2 separate regions of the Homo sapiens genome follow, and region 1 is linked to region 2. The links are contacts of gene promoters, found by promoter capture Hi-C in human tissues and cell types (Jung and others, 2019). All regions are on one chromosome and are shown on one strand. The core of a region is centred on a gene start or on the middle of the fragment in contact, and the rest is flanking DNA. Distances in the headings are between cores, read along the strand shown. Region 1 holds the start of PNPLA7 (patatin like domain 7, lysophospholipase). Region 2 holds the start of TMEM203 (transmembrane protein 203).

Evidence for each region. Contacts are between HindIII fragments. The study calls those that stand out against the background at their distance.
Region 1: the fragment with the promoter of PNPLA7 here is called in contact with the fragment with the promoter of TMEM203 in region 2 in 2 of the 25 tissues and cell types used here (dorsolateral prefrontal cortex and pancreas).

What each region holds. Positions count from the first base shown.
Region 1 is chr9:137,549,152-137,551,651 of GRCh38, forward strand. It overlaps PNPLA7 (patatin like domain 7, lysophospholipase), which reads right to left and starts at 1,251. Exons shown (of 35, transcript NM_001098537.3): 1 at 1,017-1,251. The coding sequence starts at 1,046. RefSeq lists an enhancer at 360-861 and a silencer at 2,050-2,500. The HindIII fragment of the contact is 18,703 bases long and covers 1-2,500 here.
Region 2 is chr9:137,202,398-137,207,661 of GRCh38, forward strand. It overlaps TMEM203 (transmembrane protein 203), which reads right to left and starts at 3,251. Exons shown (of 1, transcript NM_053045.2): 1 at 1,685-3,251. The coding sequence starts at 3,017. The coding sequence ends at 2,607. NDOR1 (NADPH dependent diflavin oxidoreductase 1) reads left to right here and starts at 3,303. Exons shown (of 14, transcript NM_014434.4): 1 at 3,303-3,515; 2 at 3,835-3,912. The coding sequence starts at 3,381. RefSeq lists a silencer at 3,007-3,266. The HindIII fragment of the contact is 14,043 bases long and covers 1-5,264 here.

The DNA of each region.
Region 1 (2,500 bases), core at 1-2,500, 340 kb after region 2:
AGGCCTTTGCCATGTGGCTACAGATGTTTGACTAAGAAAAAGATTCTAGGGCTGGGCACAGTGTCTCACGCCTGTAATCCCAGCACTTTGGGAGGCCGAGGCGGGCAGATCATGAGGTCAAGAGTTCAAGACTAGGCCGGGCACGGTGGCTCATGCCTGTAATCCCTGCACTTTGGGAGGCCAAGGCGGGCGGATCACGAGGTCAGGAAATCGAGACCATCCTGGCTAACACAGTGAAACACCGTCTCTACTGAAAATACAAAAAAATATTAGCCGGGCGTGGTGGTGGGCGCCTGTAGTCCCAGCTACTTGGGAGGCCGAGGCAGGAGAATGGCGTGAACCTGGGAGGCAGAGCTTGCAGTGAGTTGAGATCGTGCCACTGCAATCCAGCTTGGGCGACAGAGCAAGACTCCGTCTCAAAAAAAAAAAAAAAAAAAGTTCAAGACCAGCCTGGCCAACATGGCGAAACCCCGTTTCTACTAAGAATACAAAAATTAGCCGGGCGTGGTGCCTGTAGTCCCAGCTACCCGGGAGGCTGAGGCAGAATTGCCTGAACCCAGGAGGCGGAGGTTGCTGTGAGCCAAGATCACACCATTGCACACCAGCCTGGGCGACAGAGCGAGACTCCGTCTTGGGAAAAAAAAAAACACAGAAAAAGGTTCTAAGCAAAACCATCAGGCAAAGTCCTAAAGGAACTGGAAGTAGCAACTGTGACCTTAGGGGAAGAAAAGACAAGGCCTCAGGCAATGCCCATGGGCCACCGCTGGCTGCCCTCGCTGTGAACAATGCCCATGGGCCACCACTGGCTGTCTGCTGTGACAGGCGCGTCTAACAAGTGCTGGCAGCTGTGACAGGCAGCAGAGAGGGGCCAGATCCACCACTCCCACAGTCCTCAGGCGCCAAGAAGCCACGGGGCCAAAGAGCGCGGCAGAGCAGACGCCAAGAGGACCCTTCTCTGGGTCCAGAAATGCCCCCCAACTGGGAAATCCAGGCATCTGGTCCCCCGAGTTACATACCTGTGGGCTGTCATCTTTCTCTTCCTCCATGGCCAGAAACAGAAAAAACAGTCAGGGGCGAAAAGCAGACAGCCTGAAGCAAACAAGGGCACACCTCTACCCGCTCATGCTCACACCTGGACACTTTTCCCTGGGTTCCTTTCAAGTCAAATTATGTTTCACTGAAAGGAAAATCCTGCTGAAAAAGTCTGTTCTCCAGGAAGAAAAGCTGTCTTTTGAGAAGTGTCTGTCATCTGCTAGGAGCCACCTCCTTCCCTCTGTAAACAGCCCTCACGTGGCTGTCCCGGAACCCAGAACAGCAGCCAGATGGGGCGTATCCAAGCAGGTCAAGAGGAGCCAGGCCCAGCGCGGCGGGGATGGGGGCAGCGCTGCCTTCTGGAGAAGCACGGCTGGAGGGGAGGTGACGCTGGCGGGGCGTGGATCCGGGGTGTGGGGATGCAGCTGGGGAGGAGGGTGCAGCTGGGGAGGGGGTGGATCCGGCGTGTAGGGGTACCGCTGGGGAGTGGGTGCAGCTGGGGAGGGGGTGGATCTGGGGTGTGGGGGTGCCGCTGGGGAGTGGGTGCAGCTGGGGAGGGGGTGGATCCGGCGTGTAGGGGTACCGCTGGGGAGTGGGTGCAGCTGGGGAGGGGGTGGATCTGGGGTGTGGGGGTACTGCTGGGGAGAGGGTGCAGCTGGGGAGCGCGTGGATCCGGCGAGTGGGGGTACCGCTAGGGAGGGGGTGCAGCTGGGGAGGGGGTGGATCTGGGGTGTGGGGGTGCCGCTGGGGAGGGGGTGCAGCTGGGGAGGGGGTGGATCTGGGGCGTGGGGGTGCCGCTGGGGAGGGGGTGCAGCTGGGGAGGGGGTGGATCTGGGGCGTGGGGGTGCCGCTGGGGAGGGGGTGCAGCTGGGGAGGGGATGGATCTGGGGTGTGGGGGTACCGCTGGGGAAGGGCGTGCAGCTGGAGAGGGGATGGATCTGGGCTGTGGGGGTGCCGCTGGGGACGGGGTGCAGCTGGGGAGGGGGTGGATCCGGATTGTGAGGGTGCGGCTGGGGGGCGACTTCCGCGTGGGGTGAGAGGTCGCCTGCGAGGGTGACCGGGCAGGAGGGCTCAGTGCGCAAGCCGGACGTGCTGGGTCCAAGATTATTGATTAATTTGGGCACCGCGAGGGCTCGAGTCCCCCCACACCACTGCCCGGCCTGCGGGGGAGCACAGACAGCCCGGGCCCTCCCGGCTGCAGGTCCCGGGCTTTCCCCGCGCGGTTGCCGGCTCCGCCCAGAGGAGCCGCGCCCGGCGGAGGGGTAAGAAAGGCAGGGTCGCGGCGTCAACGCGGCGGCCGTCTCGAGTCCAGGGCCCGCGTCCTCCCCGACCTCCCGACGCCACCTCACGGCCTCAGGGGGACTGGGCTCCCGGGAAACCGCCGGCCACCTGGCGGACGAACACAGGCAGTGGCGGGCAGTGGAGACGCCAGGGACCACCGCGCTGAGAGCGATCACTCATCCGCCAG
Region 2 (5,264 bases), core at 2,001-4,500:
TCCTCCCTTAGGGCCCTCCTCAAATCACCTTTCTAAAGGAAGCATCTGATGTTCATCACTTCTACCCTAGTAGGGTTGCCCAATTCTGAACTACCAAAATAAAACAGGGGAACACACAAAACACAAAATCTAGAAATAAATAACATTACGAGGAAACTCACTCCCACTGTTCAGCTTGAATCTGGCTTTGACAAAAGTTATGCCAATCCCAGGCTGGACACAGTGTCGTAGCAACAAACCAGATAAGCTGCCTCCAACGCAAGCCCCTCCATGGTTTACACAACTAAGCATACACGCCAGGCAGAGGCTGACACCGCACTCCGCTGGCCAGGCTGATGCATGAGAGCAGAGGTCAGCACACCTGTTCTGTAACGAGCCAGATAGGAAATTTTTTTTTTTTTTTTTTTTTGAGACAGAGTCTCGCTCTGTCGCCCACGCTGGAGTGCAGTGGTGCTATCTCGGCTGACTGCAATCTCTGCCTCCCAGGTTCAAGCAATTCTCCTGCCTCAGCCTCCTGAGTAGCTGGGATTACAGGCATGCGCCACCATGCCCAGCTAATTTTAGTATTTTTAGTAGAGACGGGGTTTCACCACGTTGGTCAGGCTGGTCTCAAACTCCTGACCTCGTGATCTGCCCGCCTCCGCCTCCCAAAGTGCTGGGATTACAAGCGTGAGCCACCGCATCTGGCCCCAGACAGGAAATATTTTAGCCCACTGGTTTTTGCCAGGGACAATTTTGTTCCCCAGGGCCCTTAGCAATGTCTGGATAAACATCTGCTTGTCACAAGTGAAGGCTGCTACTGGCATCTACCCAGGAGAGGCAGGAGCACTGCGAAACAGACTGCATCCTCACTAGAGAATCTTCTGGCCCCAAAGGCCAAGAGTGCCAATTAAGAGACCTTGGACTCTGAGGGTCATATCCACTCTCTGTCACAAGTTCTGCTTTTGTTTTTTTTTTTGTTTGTTTGTTTTTTTCTGAGACAGAGTCTCGCTCTGTTGGCCAGGCTGGAGTGCAGTGGCGTTGTCTCGGCTCACTGCAAGCTCCGCCTCCCGGGTTCACGCCATTCTCCTGCCTCAGCCTCCCAAGTAGCTGGGACTATAGGCACCCGCCACCACGCCCGGCTAATTTTTGTATTTTTAGTAGAGACAGGGTTTCACCGTGTTAGCCAGGATAGTTTCGATCTCCTGATCTTGTGATCCACCCACCTCGGCCTCCCAAAGTGCTGGGATTACAGGCGTGAGCCACCACGCCTGGCCTGCTTTTGCTTTTAATCATTTAGGGGTGTAAAAACCATCCTCAGCTCAAGGGTCATACAAAAACAGGCCTTAGGACATTGTTTGCTGATCCCTGCTCTACAGAGTGCCAACAAGGCCCACAAAGACCACACTCTGGCAAGAAGTCATGGGCTCTGGGGTCACAAACTATTCAATGGGTCTTTAACATGAGCCCAGATTGTTGTCTTCATACAGGGTGGGGGGGGGGGTGCCTGAGTTACCCACCTCCTAGAGCAGGAAGGAGGGATTCTCCAGAACAAGTGATTCCCACCACCACCATCCACTAAGCTCTAGCCACAGGTTTCAATCCATTTAAAACCGCAGCTCTGTAACCAGCTACACCACGTAGCAGAGAGTATCTCAATATTCATCCTATTTAACCCTTGAGGGTTACAGGCAACCACTATTCATTTCAGGAAAACATTCTCTTACTTTATTTGCATCTCAGCAAAGGTTCTCATGTGGCACCTGACTGGCATCAAACCAAAGTTCGTAGGCCAACAAAGATGGGCCACTCACAAGCTTCCCATTTGTAGATCTCAGTGCCTATGAGTATCTGACACCTGTTCCTCTCTTCAGTCTCTTAGGGAGGCTTAAATCTGTCTCAGGTGTGCTAAGAGTGCCAGCCCAAGGTGGTCAAAAGTCCACAAAACTGCAGTCTTTGCTGGGATAGTAAGCCAAGCAGTGCCTGGACAGCAGAGTTCTTTTCTTGGGCAACAGATAACCAGACAGGACTCTAATCGTGCTCTTATTCAACATTCTTCTGTCTCTGCCTAGACTGGAATAAAAAGCCAATCTCTCTCGTGGCACAGGGAAGGAGATACAAGCTCGTTTACATGTGATAGATCTAACAAAGGCATCTACCGAAGTCTGGTCTGGATAGACGGCACAGGGAGCTCTTAGGTCAGCGCTGCTGGTTGGAGGACATTCCTGAGTCCAGCTTTGCAGCCTTTGTGCAACAGTACTTTCCCAGGATCCACAGGAAATACTCAGAGTCCACCTGGACATTTTACTTATATTCAGTTTCCAAGTGTCAGAGGGGTTCAGGACTGTCTGGCCTGGGGGGCCTCCTCATGACCTCAATTCAGGATTATCTACTCAAAGCATTAAACAAAAGGAAATACATTTTCAGGATGAAGGCTGCTCTTTTAAGCCCTGCTGAAGAAACCATTTCAAACAGGATTGGAATAGGGAAACCCGGCACTCAGCTCGGCGCAAGCCGGCGGTGCCTTCAGACTAGAGAGCCTCTCCTCCGGTGCGCTGCAAGTAGGGCCTCGGCTCGAGGTCAACATTCTAGTTGTCCAGCGCTCCCTCTCCGGCACCTCGGTGAGGCTAGTTGACCCGACAGGCGCGGATCATGAGCAGCTGCAGGAGAATGAAGAGCGGGGACGTAATGAGGCCGAACCAGAGCTCCCGAGTCTGCTCCGCCAGCTTCTGGCACAACAGCATCTCGAAGACGAACTTGAGACTCAGGACCGTAAGTACCCAGAAAAGGCGGAGCACCGCCAGCCGCTTCTCTCCATCCTGGAAGAGGCGCACGGACACGATGGTGGTGAAGTAGGTGCTGAGCCCGTCAGCGGCGAAGAAAGGCACGAACACGTTCCACCAGGAGAGGCCCGGGACCAGGCCATCCACACGCAGTGCCAGCAGCACAGAGAACACCAACAGGGCCAGCAGGTGCACGAAGATCTCGAAGGTGGCGAAGCCTAGCCACTGCACCAGCTCCCGGAGCGAGAAGAGCATCGCGCCCGTTGAGCGCGGGCCGGGGCCCGGCCGAGCGTGCCACCCGCGGGGCTGCGTCTCCTCTCCCCGTGGCCCTCGCCCGCGCCTGCCGCCGCTGCTGCGAGCGAGAGGCAGCGAGCGGCCCCGCCAGCCCCAGCCCTCGGCCCTGATGCGCCGGCAATCCCCCGGCCCCGACCCGGGACTCAACCCTGGCCGCCCGTGAACGCCCGCCTCGATCGGACGCCATGCCCCCACAGGGCGCGTCCCTAGTGCGTCACTTCCGGTCGACGGCGGAAGGCGGAAGGCGGAGCGGTCCCTGCAACCCGGCCGGCGGGAACTGCCTTCTAGTTTTTAGTCTCAGACCAGACCACCGGGCGCACCCCGATGCCGAGCCCGCAGCTTCTGGTGCTCTTCGGCAGCCAGACAGGCACGGCTCAGGATGTGTCGGAGAGACTGGGTCGCGAGGCCCGGCGCCGGCGGCTTGGCTGCCGGGTGCAGGCCCTGGACTCCTACCCGGTGGTGAGGGCTCGCTAGGGCCTCGGCGTGGGGGACGAGCAGGCCTGGCGTGCCCGCCTCGCGGGGTCATCGACCCAAAAGGCGTCGCATTTTCTCTGAGAGCGGGTCTTTCCCTTATGGCGGATTTAGGGAAGGAGGTTTGGGAAGGGGAGTTCAGTTTAGCACCTGGAGGAGGTTGGAACCTGAAAGAGAAGACGGTCTGGCTGCTCACATAAATCCCTCTGCCCTGTCAGCCTGAGTAAAGGAGAAGGGGGTCAAGTTTTGGGAAGGACGCCCGGTCCTTACAGCCGGAGGTCTTACGTGTGTGTGTCTTTTTGTTGAGGTGAATCTGATTAACGAGCCCCTGGTGATATTTGTTTGTGCAACTACAGGCCAAGGAGACCCCCCTGACAACATGAAGGTAAGGCTGGCCTGATGTGGCTCCTCAGATCCCTGCCCTCGACCCTCACCCCGTTTTCATTGCCTGGCGTCTAGGTGCAGTAAATAGCTCTCCTTTATCTCATGCACCTTCAGAGGTGGATTTGAGAGAACGTCCGTGAGTGGGGCTGGGGGCTCCGGTTGCCCTCTCTAATAAACTCGTCGTAGCCACCAAATAGCCTTATTATCCGTTTTAACCTTTCTTATTTTTCCAGGGCTATCTATATGTGCATCTAGTCTGGGTCTTGTGTGTATTTCTAGACTGTATGACCCTCAGGGAACGTTGCTGAATTCTCTGACCATCTTTTAAGCACATATTCTATTCTTGGCACAGTCTGGTGCTGGGGATCCAGCTGTGAACCCAGCAGCCATATTTCCATCCTGGCAGAGTTCACACTGTAGCAGAAGCAGCTAACGGGCAATGACAGTGCCAGCAAACACCTGCTGCTGGGGAAAGTAGCATATGTCACAGGAGCACTGATAAGGGGCATCGAGCCTTATCTCACCCAACCTTGGGGCCCAGGCAGAGGTTTCTGGAAGAAAAGAGTGTAAGCTGAGTCACGGAAGGATGCGTGAGGGCTAGTCAGGCACCGAGGAAGAAGGAGCAGTCAGCGCAGAGGAAAAAGATGATTTGGTTTGTGTGAAAAGTGGAAAGCAGCTCAGGGTGGCCAAGCTGAGGAGTACACTGGGGCAAGAGGGGAGGAGAAGAGAGGCAGGAAGCCAGGCCCAGTCCAAAGAGCCTGAGTAACCACAGCAAGGCAGATGGGCTTGAAATGAAGGGTTGTCGGAACTGTAGGGGTGACACAGTCATGTTCCTAAGCTAGCAAAACCGCACTGGTCTGCAGGACAGCAGGAATAATGCCATGAGATGCACAGGACAGGCAGCAGATGCTACCGATCTGAGCTGAAGTGGTGGCAGAAGATAGAAGTGGACACATTGCAGTGGTGTCAGGAAGAGAGAGTCCCCGGGACATGGAACGGACCCAATAGGTCAAGCAGAATCGAGACAGGGATGTGGGCTCTGGAACCAAGATGGATGGTGGTTCCATCCACAGAAATCAGAGAACACGGTGGGAGTAGGGGGCTGTGCAGGAAGGGAACCTGGAGACATTGAAGTGGAGAAGTGCAGTAGGACTAGCGCTCCAAGGAAGATCCTGGGGCGGAGATAGGTGTTGAGGTAGCCACAATACAGAAGTGTGAGAAGAGGAAGCTCCTCTCTCCCCACAGGACAGGCTGCCCAGAACGTTAGAGCCCAGGAGGGCAGGAGAGTGACCAAGCAGCTAGAAGAGAGGGTGCAGCACCCCAAGGAGAGGACTGGGGGAGTGAGTGTTCCAG